Regions from separate parts of the Homo sapiens genome. Here all the other regions are linked to region 4. The links are contacts of gene promoters, found by promoter capture Hi-C in blood cells and fetal thymus (Javierre and others, 2016). All regions are on one chromosome and are shown on one strand. The core of a region is centred on a gene start or on the middle of the fragment in contact, and the rest is flanking DNA. Distances in the headings are between cores, read along the strand shown.

Region 1 (2,700 bases), core at 114-2,613, 920 kb before region 4:
ATCCCCGAATGCTCAGGGAGATCGATTTGAGTACTAATAAGACTCCAGTCTCCTGCACAAGCAGCTCTGTGTACTCTTCCTCTATTGCAATTCCTGTCTTGATAAATCGGCTCTGTGTAGGCGGCGGAAGAGGTGAACCTGTTGGGCGGTTACCACCTCTGTCGTGTGTGACAGTTGTTTTGAATCTCTAATTGCTCAGTACAGATCCCACATGCAGGTTAAGTAAGATGCTTTGAAGAAAATGGAAAGTCTTAAGTGATTGCTTCCAAGAAATCAAACCTACATTTATCTAGGTAACAACGGACTTTACGTATCACAAATGAAGAGACTGACAAAGTAAATCAACTTGGCCTTTTCTTAGGTATGTCAAGTCAGTTTTTTTTTTCCTAAGGTGTTGAAATGGAAATTCTTCCATTTCACTAATTAGCATTCCTTTTTGGATGTTTCGAAAATAAAAAATAAATCTAAAATATGTAATAAACGGCAAGTACAAAAAGGGCTTGACAGAAAAATAACATGTTACTTTTACCAGATCTAACATGAACATCTTCTAAGGTAAATTCGTTTTCAGAATTTGTCTAAACTATTCTTAGGCTATTCATCTACCCCGCAACAGGACAATGTCTGCTCTGTTTTAGCTTTCTCAATAGATTGTAAGCAAATCTCTTTGCGGCACATATTTAAAACAGAAAGACAACATTTGATCTTATCTGATGCCAGAGCCTTCTTGATCTTACGGAAGATGTGAACGAGTTTTCCTGGAACTGTAACACACTGCCATCTGGCTGATACACACTGGAAGACACCATCAATTTAAAAGTGTTATCATGATTTTAGAGGAAAATGTGGTGTGGAGAAAGGCCTGTCTTTGAATGGATGAAATAGGTTAATAAAAAACATCACTGTTTAAAAACTAGAACACTGAAAAATTCTAGGAAAGCTTATTTTCCCTTATATTTTTATGGTACTTTCAACACTTAATAACACTATTTCAATTAAGTTTTCTCCTAGAGTTTATAGTATATCAGTACATTCTTTTCTGTGGATGCAATAATATAGAATCTTATTCCAAATCTTACTGGCAGGTTCTCTTAAATTCTTCAACGGCTGCCATAGTGATTAACCAAAATTAGTTATGATTTCTGCCTATCTGTGTGAGAACTTACAGGGGAAATTGTTCTAAACCTGAGGAACATGAAGTAACTGTACTGCACACTCCAAATGATGACAGTCATTTTATATCACCTTCAATTACCCAACAGCTTTTAATAGTCTGGCCATAAGTTTCTTTGCACGAGCATTTGTTAAATAACTACCATTCAGTCAAAGAAGGTAAGGGAAGTCCTGTTTAAAGAATCCTAAGTAATCCTAATCCTAAGAATTATAAATAATTATTAATTTTATACAAGTATCAACAAAAACTTACCCAGTAGTTTGTCTATAAATTTGGTATGTACTCAAGCACACCTCAGTGTGTATGCATGTAAATGGGTAATTCCCATTTACTGGGTATTTGTGTCTAATACATGTGCACATTAGCAGGGCAGTGGAAAGGAAAGGGAAAAATTGCAAACATTCACAGGAATGCTCTACATATAAAAAATTGGTACAAATACATACAATTCTTTTTTTACAGTCAAGTTTAAATTCTTACAAACAAACTTACCTTTTCTGGAATATTTTGAGTAATAATGTCTAAATGTGATAAAACTGCTAAAAACGTACAAATGCTTGTTTTAAGATTTTCTTCACCCTGAAAAAATAATCAGATAAACAAATATTGATTCAAAGCTTACTGTGAAACATGCACGTGAAAGCGCCGTGCTGGACTCTATGAGGGCCCAGGACAGGAGGCAGCCTCTTCCCTGGAACAGCCCGGGGTCTGGGTGGGAAGGGGGCTGCGGCAACAGGCACAGGACTGAAAGCAAAGGAAATATTTCCTAGAGCCAAATGCCAGTGCACACAAAAATCAGCAGGTCACATAAAGTACTGAATAACTCAACTCTAAGTACAGCGGGGCACAGTGGCTCACGCCTATAATCCCAACACTTTGGGAGGCTGAGGCGGGTGGATCATTTCAGGCCAGGGGTTTGAGATCAGCTTGGCCAACATGGTGAAACCATGTCTACCAAAAAATACAAAAATTCGCTGGGCATGGTAGCGCACACCTGTAGTCCCAGCTACTGGGGAGGCTGAGGTAGAAGAATTGCCTGAACCCAGGGCAGAGTTTGCAGTTAGCTGAGATCGTGCCACTGCACTCCAGCATGGGCAACAGAGCAAGACCCTGTCTCAAAAAAAAACATAAAATAAAGTACAGTGTGCCCTCTGTATGCACGAGTTCTGCATCTATGAGTTCAACCAACCGTGGATGAAAAATATTTAACAAAAAATTTTTAAAACATAATGCAATTAAAAAGTAATACAAAGTTTAAAACTGTATAACAGCGATTTACATAGCATGTACATTGTACTAGACATTATAAGTAATCTAAGATTATTAAAGTATATGGGAGGATACACATCAGTTATGTGCAACTACTATGCCATTCTAAACAAAAGACTTGAGCATCCTCAGGTTTTGGCATCCGTAGGGGGCCTGGAATCAATCCCCCATGGATACCAAGGGTTGATTATCTGTGGCAGAGCCAAGGGCATGCTCACTTCAGGAGAGGTGAGGCCTTCAGGATGGGAAGGACTGGC
Region 2 (2,700 bases), core at 79-2,578, 850 kb before region 4:
ACCCCCAGGTAATTACCTAAAATAAATGAAAACATGTTTCAAAAAAAAAAGCTTGCAGAAGAATGTTTTTGACAACATTATTCGTTATAGCCAAAAGCTTATAACAACCTAGTAGGTGTTAGGTAACAACCTACATGTGCATCAAATTGAAGAATGAATAAAAAATTGTGATCTATCTATATAATAATGCTCCCAGCAATAAGACAATGAATTGCTAATCCGCTTTACATGGATAAGTCTCAGAAACAATATGTTAAACAAAGGAAGCCAGTCACAACGTTTACATCCTCGTGATTTCATTTATATGAAATCCAAGAAGAGACAAAAGTAATCTGAAGGATAGAAATGAGAACAGTAGTTGCATATAGGGAGTAGAGATTTGACTAGAATTGGGCACAAGGGAACTTTCTGGGGTGATGAAAATATTTTATGTTGATCAGGGTGTTGTTACACATTTGTCAAGACTCCTTGAACTGAACCCTTAAGATCTATGCATTTCGCTCTGCAGAAAGTTTACCTCAATCAGCCGGGCGCAGTGGCTCACACCTGTAATCCCAGCACTTTGGGAGGCCGAGGCCGGTGGATCATGAGGTCAGGAGATTGAGACCATCCTGGCCAACATGGTGAAACCCCATCTCTACTGAAATACAAAAAAATTAGCTGGGCATGGTGGTGCACGCCTGTAATCCCAGCTACTCGGGAGGCTGAGGCAGGAGAATTGCTTGAACCCAGGAGGCAGAGGTTGCAGTGAGCCAAGATCACACCACTGCACTCCAGCCTGGAGACAGAGTGAGACTTGGTCTCAAAAAAAAAAAAAAGAAAGTTTACCTCAATCTTGAAAAATGACTTATACCAAAAAACAAAACAAAACAAAACAAAACAAAAAAACAAGTTGGCCTATGTGTTTTATTCTCTGTTGCCTTCAGAGTAAAGCCTAACTGCAGAGCACAGCATTGAAGGCTTATTGGGATTGGGGAAAAGCCAGCTGGCCTCACAGCCTGACTCCCCCTTCTCTGCCCCAGGTCAGGCATGTGGAACTCTCCTTCTTACCCACAACATGTTTGCACTGTCTTCTCTCCCGGAATATTTCCCGCAACACCACTTTTCTGATTCACCAATGTGGGCAGCGATTCCTAATTGCCAGAGCTGCCCTTTTTCGTTCTTACCTGAATGGACTCTGTGGAGTATTTCCTATTTCTTGAAACACTATCTCACTCTGGTTTTCATCGATGACTTTGTCCTGTTCTTTCTTTTCTCTGCTTCCTCAGCTGTTTCTTCTCCCTTTCTTTCAGCATCTTATTTTTCCTCCTGACCTGTCCATAGTGATATTTCCAGGGTTTTATCTTCAGGTCTCTCTTCTCCTCACTCTGTAAATTTTCTCTGAATAACTTCATTAACACTATAGATCTGATTACCATTTACATGCTAATGATGAAAAAGTCTGTATCTCCAGCCTAGGTCTCTCTCCTGAGACTTATCCTTAGGAGATAGCTCGAAACCTATTTCTCCAACTGCCTACCACACGTCTTCATTTGAATATTATTCAGGACATCATTCTCAGTCTCCACTTTTACAAATCTAACTTCATTCCCTTCATCCCTTCACCCAGCATCATTACTCCCCACCGATGTTCTTCTTCCCAGGAATTCCCTGTTTAGGGAAATGGCCATCATTCCCAAGTTGCCCAAGTCAAAAACCTGGGAACCAATACACTTCCTACTTGATTCTCACATGCAATCACTCCTCAAAGTTTCCATGCAACTTTCTAAATCTCTCGGTGATCCCTCCTCTCTGTGCCCCACTAATACCTTACTTAGTTTTAGACCCTCCTCATTTCTTGCCAAGATAATAGCAATCACCACCTACCCCACTCCCAGCTATATCACATTTAAGTAACGCTTATCGAGTGAATAGCCATCTCCTACTCCTTTATGAAGACCCAAATTTCAAGGCATCTCTCTAAGAAGCCATTCCTAGTGCCCCTGGTCGTGTAATACATACTCCGTATTGGTACTAGGATGATCTTCCTAAAATTACATCATTGGCTACCCAGAGCCCTCAGAATCATGGTTGAGTTTCTTAGCATATCATCCAAGATGCCTCAAGATGGAATGCCTGCCTAATTCTCCATCTTCACACTCCTGACAAGCCCCATTTACACCTTAATTTTGAAGTCCCTAAAACATGTGTGCTCTCACTTTTCTTTGTGTTTTTTCAAAAAAAGCCCTTCTCTCTTTTGGAAAGCACTTACCCCTTCTCCACCTGACTTTTTTTTTCTTTCAAGACAAAGTTCAAATGTTATCTCTCCAGAAAGTCATTTCTTAATACCTTTCTCCTGCTGCTAACACCCCAGTTAAATTAGGTGACCCTCTTTCAAATTCCCCAAACATCCTGGCATGTCACCAACACAGCAATGGTCACACTGTGTTGCAATTGCAGGTTATTTCTCTGCCCCCTACTCCTCCTCTCTAAGCAATTTGAGGGCTAGGCATGGGGTATGAGGTTTTGTCTGCTATTATACTCATGCCAGTACCTCATCTCAGACATAGCACACTTCAGTAAAGCTTTTTTTTTTTTGTAGATGGAGTCTCGCCCTGTCACCCAGGCTAGAGTGCAATGGCGCAATCTCAGCTCACTGCAACCTCTGCCTCCAGGGTTCAAGTGATTCTCCTGCCTCAGCCCCCAGTGCAGCTGGGATTA
Region 3 (2,700 bases), core at 127-2,626, 860 kb before region 4:
GCTATGCTCTTTCAATATTATTAAACAGGACTAAATATTAATATAACGTGGCAGAGACTAATTAAAAATGTTTCAAGAAATTGGCTGGTGGGGGGAGGTAGTTCTGTTTAGAGGGCATACTGAACAGCAAGACACAACTATAAATTTAGTTAATATTAGAAAGATAACACAATTTCAAGAGCAAGGGAAATTTTTGAAGACAGAATTCAAGAGTCATAAATGATGCTCAAAAAAATGAGGCTAAGGTACAATCCTGACAAACTTCTCACTGTCAACCTTTTCAAAACTTTAACTGTGGCCTATAAGTAGAGACAGGATGAATAACAGCAGCCACTGTCAGATACGGAAAGGAAAAGGTTAGAATGAACCTTGCAGTACTGAACTAAAACTGGACGTCCTGGTGTGAATTCACGGTTCTTAATATGGATGGATGGATGAACGGATGGATGGATGGATGGATGGATGGATGGATGGCGGACAGACAGGCACTCAAACAGATATAAATGAGTAAGTCTGGTCAGTAGACAAAGCTAAGAAAGATGCGCACACAGGGAGAGGCAACGATCAAGCAAATGCAGTAAAACCTTAACATTCAGGGAATATGGGTGAAAGGGAAATGAGAATTCTTTGGATTATTCTCAAGACTTTTCTGTAAGTGTAAAACTAAGTTAAAAGAAAAAGGAAAATAAGTTTAAAGTGTTGGTTAGTCAAAATCATTACAACTTCCAAGAGAGCAGGAAGCAGCAGTAGGGAGAAGAAAGTGTGCTGTAGAAGACATAGTTTCCAACAGCCCAAGAATAGAGCAGCTCAAGGCAGAAAAAGGAAACAAGAAAAAACAAAGGAGAAACACTTGATGCAAATCAGAATGCAAGAAGAATAACAGATAGAAAAAGGACCACATGATAAGAAAAACTCAACTGTCTATTCAGCAACATACTGTATGTGCCAAATGCATGAAACAATCTGGTCATGTCTCTTAACATGAAATGTATGTATCAAATACTTCATAACATAATGTCTCTTTACCTGCTATACAGAGAGCTCTCTGAAAGCGCATCCATTAATGGTCCAATAATAAACTAAAAAAAAAAAAAAAAAAAGACACGTAATTGAAACTTAGTTGTAAATACAATTTTGAAGTCAGTTTCCCTGATTGAACATCCTACACAGGCTTACAGAAGACCTGCTATAAGCAAAGCTGATCTCTTACGCTGCAGGCTAAATTTAGTGCTGGTCCTGGAGGGGAAGCTTAATTCTACCAGAAAAACAAAGTAAGTACAGAATTTTCCCACCTGATTAAAATTTATGCCATACTAAAAAGAGAGTTCATGTGTTGGGTCAAGAAAGAAGGAAGGAAGCCAAAGAAGAAACATATGCTAGAAAATAAAGGTAATGACAGGAAAACCAAAAAGATACTCAAGAGAAAATTTAAGCCCCTATGCCTAGAGGATAAAGAGGAAAAAAATTATACTCAAAAATTACTATTAGATACTGGTCAGAAAAGCAAGCTTACATGAAGTGCAGAAATAATAGAATGTAGAAACATGATGCATATCAATATACCACAGCATATATTAAAATAATTAGAAAAAACTGACTTAGGCTGGTGCAGTGGCTCCCACCTATAATCCCAGCACTTTGGGAGGCTGAGGTGGGCAGATCCCTTGAGGCCAGGATTTTGAGACCAGCCTGGCCAACATGGCAAAACCCTGTCTCTACTAAAATTACAAAACTGAGCCAGGCATGGTGGCGTGCACCTGTAGTCCCAGCTACTTGGGAGGCTGAGGCATAAGAATCCCTTAAATCTGGGAGGCAGAGGTTGCAGTGAGCTGAGATCACGATACTGCACTCCAGCCTCGGCAACAGAGTGAGACTCTGTCTCAAAAACAAAAAAATTATATCACTATCTGAGAAATATATTCAATCATTCTTTTAAAAAAGAAGAAGAAGAAGCCAGGCACAGTGGTTCACACCTGTAATCCCAGCACTTTGGGAGGCCAAGGCAGGTGGATCACTTGAGGCCAGGAGTTCGAGACCAGCCCAGCCAAGATGGTGGAACCCCATCTCCACTAAAAATACAAAAATTAGCCAGGTGTGGTGGCACCCACCTGTAATCCCAGCTACTCAGGAGGCTGAGGCAGGGGGATCACTTGAACCTGGGAAGCGGAGGTTGCACTGAGCCGAGATCATGCCACTGCACTCCAGCCTGGGTGACAGGCATGAGACACCATCTCGAAAAAAAAACAGCTATTGAAAGAAAAAGAAGAAAAAAATTGACTTAGGTCACCTCTAAATGAGAGGTAGATTACTCTACCTAAGGAAGTCATCATGGGACTCACATGACACCATAATATAAAACTTAAAATCACAGCTATAACTCCCACTGTCTCTGCCTCACGTAGTTCCTGACAAATGGAAGTACAGATTCTAATAAATATTGCTTAGAAGGCAATCCCTATTTCATATAGTAGACAACAGCAATTCATTGAGTCAGAATTGAGGCAGTAGCATCACTAAACAAATAACAGTCATCAGTGGCTCAGAACGGTGACAACAGCATCACCTGATAGCTTCTATACCAGTTTTCATATAGTGAAAACTTGACTTATGCTTACGATTCTTGACTTAACGCTGTTCTGAATATCGATAATATACAACTACTTTTTCACAATGGTAATAATACAGGCAGTTCTACCGTTG
Region 4 (2,700 bases), core at 173-2,672:
AGCTGACCCCGGTCTCTCTGGGGAAGGGCTCGGTCACCAAGTCACCAAACACACCTTCCTCTGCAAAACTCGGAAGCCCCACACGACGACCTCGTCGAAACCTCCTACTTCCTGAATTCGATAACCCCAGAGATTCGTTTTCCGCAGGCAATCTTACCTTCATGATGACTCTGGGACCAAGGTATCCTCTAAAACACCAGGTTCAGCTGCACCTGGAGGGGAAACAAAAGACACCCAGTCAACACCACAGGAGCCCCTCTGCACTGGCGGAGGCGGAGGGAAAGAAGCGAGCGACGTCCGAACCCCGAAGAAAGAGCCGCAACCAGGCGCCAGCCCCCGAACCATCACACGCCGACTCGGGGCTCCCTCCGGCCCCGCCATCCCCGCAAACCCAACCACCTACACAGCTCGGCAGCTTCCCGTCCCCATTGTCGAGACCCGACGGAGTTTCCCGTCTACGACAATGACGCCATTTCTGTCAGAGAAGAAACTCACAACAAGCCCGGCGTCCGGCGCAGGGCCGGCCGCTCTCCCCTAGGGCCTCGGCGCCCGGCCGAGCGAATCCGCGCCCCCACGCGCCGCGTCCGAGCGAGAGGCCGGCCGGGGGCCACCGAGGGGCCAGGAGGGCCTGTGGGCCGCGGGCAGGACCGGCCCGCCACAGAGCCCCTGCCCACGTCCCGTTCCGGGCTCAGACCCGACAAGTGGGAGCGAGATCAACATCTGGCCCCGCCGCGGGGACAACGTGAGGGCCGAGGGCCCCGGAGGCGGAACGGCCCCCACCCTGCCCGGGCCCCCGACCGCGGCCGCTAAACCGCTGAGTGTGCGGCCGCCCAGCCAGGGGGCGGCTCGGACACAGCGGCTGCGGGGGGTGGGGGTTCCCGGGAGGCCGAGGCCCCGAATTCGGGCGCCGCAGGGACCACCACCGCGATCTTCCTCTGCTCCTTGGCCGGGCCCAGCGACTCCCAAAAGAACCCCCTTAGGAGACCACGAAAGCCCCAGAAAATATCCCTACCTTCCTCGGAGGCGAGATCTGACCCTGGCACGTCCAGAGTCCCCTCTCTCCTTCTCCCCCCCAAAACCAGCAGGCCCGGGGGAGAGATGGGGAAGAAGGGCGGCGGGTCCAGCGGCTGCTGAGGCAGAGGCTCCGGCTCCTCCTCCTCCCGCGGCGGCGACTGGTACCTTTGTTTGGCGGCCGCTCGGGCTCCCTGGTTGGGGGGAGGGGGACGACGAAAAATCCCCCCCGGACTGGAGGTCCGGGCCCCCAATCGCGCTGCCCTCCAGAGGACGGCGGCGATGGACCCTCTGCAGCTCCCTCCGGGCAAAGGTCCAGGCGGTGGCCGTGGCGGCGGCAAGATGAAGCTCAAGAGTCTCCCTCCGCTTCGGCGACCGAGCTCCTCACTCCGGACTCGACTGACGGGCAAACATCGCTTCCCCCCCACCGACTCTAGGTTCCCCCCCTTTCTCCCCTCCCCTAGATTTTTTTTCCCCCCCTCCCCTACCTCTTTCCCGGATGGCCTCTTAGACGACCTTGGATTGGTTAAAGTTCTTTAGAACCCGCCTATACACTGTTCCTATTGGTCCCTGGATACAAACAACGACGCCATTTTCCCACCAGTTCTATGGAAACAGAAAGTTACGCCTCAAGGCTTTCTGGGAAATAAAGTCCATACTCTGGGGCCAACGCGCAAATCCTCGTCCGCGAGAACTGCAAGGCCCGCAATGCCCTGCGCCTGCGTGGACCGGTGCGGGGGCGGGGGGGAGGTGAAAGGGGCGGGGCAACAAAGCAGTAGGGAGGCGGCAACGACGCCTGCGCAGTGTGACCGGGATGGCGCATTTTCTTGCACCAACTAATGCGGTGTCGCTGGCGGCTGAGGAGGGCGGAGAGTTCTGTGGTGAAATAGTGGGAAGGATTCATGTAGGCATCGGGAAGAGCCTAAGTCCACATTATAAAATAGGAAGTTGATGCGGGGTACAGTTACTCCCGGACCGGCGGCGTGAAAGTCGTGATATCATCGTTGAACTGTGAGCGGCAGTGGCGGCGGCTGGGGGGAACCCGGATGGGAAGAAGGGCGGGGGAGGCTGGGAGGCGGGGCAGAGGAAAGAAAGAAAGGAGAGTGAGGACCCGGATGCTGAACCGGATTGTGTATGAATTTTCCATCCCCTAGCTTTAAGCGAGGAGGGAGAGGAAGGGTTGGCCAAGTGGGGCGGAAGGGAGCATCTGAGCGAGGAGGAAGCAGAAACCTCACCGTTTCTTCCCCTCCGGACTCTGTGCTAGCACTGTATACGTTTGCAGTTCTCTGCCCAGCCGCTGTGGAAAATCGGCCTCGAAGTGATTGAAATTCCCTGTTTATATCAGGCGGCTTCTTTCAGATCCATCGTCTTTCTCCCGGAGTATGAATGGAAGGATTCAGTATGCGCTTCACATTTGTATGTCTCTGGCCATTCTCAAACCAGGCCCTTCCCTTTGAAAAGTCTTTTGCATGGGATGTTCACTTCTTAGACGCAAGGTTGTGTGCCCTGGTTTCATCGTCTAACGCGTTAGAAGGCGCTTTCATTTCTTCATGGGTGTTGAGCGCCGACCACTGGGGTGGCCTCTGCCTTCGTAGACCTGCGCCTGGTGAGACGGACAGATGCTGAACAAAACGATGTGAAATTACCGCAGTGGCAGTGCCCCAGAGGAGAGTTCCACGGTGATAGGAG

The links. The method cuts DNA at HindIII sites, captures the fragments that hold promoters and counts their contacts. A CHiCAGO score of 5 or more calls a contact.
Region 1: a contact is called between a fragment that was not itself captured here and the fragment with the promoter of ARID4B in region 4, in 1 of 17 cell types (activated CD4 T cells). The highest score is 5.5, in activated CD4 T cells.
Region 2: a contact is called between a fragment that was not itself captured here and the fragment with the promoter of ARID4B in region 4, in 5 of 17 cell types (naive CD8 T cells, total CD4 T cells, total CD8 T cells and 2 more). The highest score is 7.7, in naive CD8 T cells.
Region 3: a fragment that was not itself captured here is called in contact with the fragment with the promoter of ARID4B in region 4 in 2 of 17 cell types (non-activated CD4 T cells and activated CD4 T cells); the score reaches 7.2 in non-activated CD4 T cells.

Annotation. Positions count from the first base shown.
Region 1 is chr1:234,408,779-234,411,478 of GRCh38, forward strand. It overlaps TARBP1 (tRNA guanosine 2 -O-methyltransferase TARBP1), which reads right to left. Exons shown (of 30, transcript NM_005646.4): 23 at 1,667-1,753. Among named protein-coding and RNA genes, the nearest start is that of COA6-AS1, 37 kb to the left of the region's middle. The HindIII fragment of the contact is 851 bases long and covers 939-1,789 here.
Region 2 is chr1:234,480,905-234,483,604 of GRCh38, forward strand. No RefSeq gene overlaps it. Among named protein-coding and RNA genes, the nearest start is that of TARBP1, 3.1 kb to the left of the region's middle. The HindIII fragment of the contact is 2,467 bases long and covers 96-2,562 here.
Region 3 is chr1:234,464,630-234,467,329 of GRCh38, forward strand. TARBP1 (tRNA guanosine 2 -O-methyltransferase TARBP1) reads right to left here. Exons shown (of 30, transcript NM_005646.4): 5 at 1,027-1,079. Among named protein-coding and RNA genes, the nearest start is that of TARBP1, 13 kb to the right of the region's middle. The HindIII fragment of the contact is 260 bases long and covers 1,247-1,506 here.
Region 4 is chr1:235,326,757-235,329,456 of GRCh38, forward strand. ARID4B (AT-rich interaction domain 4B) reads right to left here and starts at 1,423. Exons shown (of 24, transcript NM_016374.6): 1 at 1,013-1,423; 2 at 158-212. The coding sequence starts at 163. It overlaps GGPS1 (geranylgeranyl diphosphate synthase 1), which reads left to right and starts at 1,814. Exons shown (of 4, transcript NM_004837.4): 1 at 1,814-2,022. RefSeq lists enhancers at 104-293, 312-837, 1,574-1,633, 1,874-1,963, 2,464-2,613 and silencers at 544-633, 644-873, 1,044-1,093. The HindIII fragment of the contact is 9,318 bases long and covers 1-2,700 here.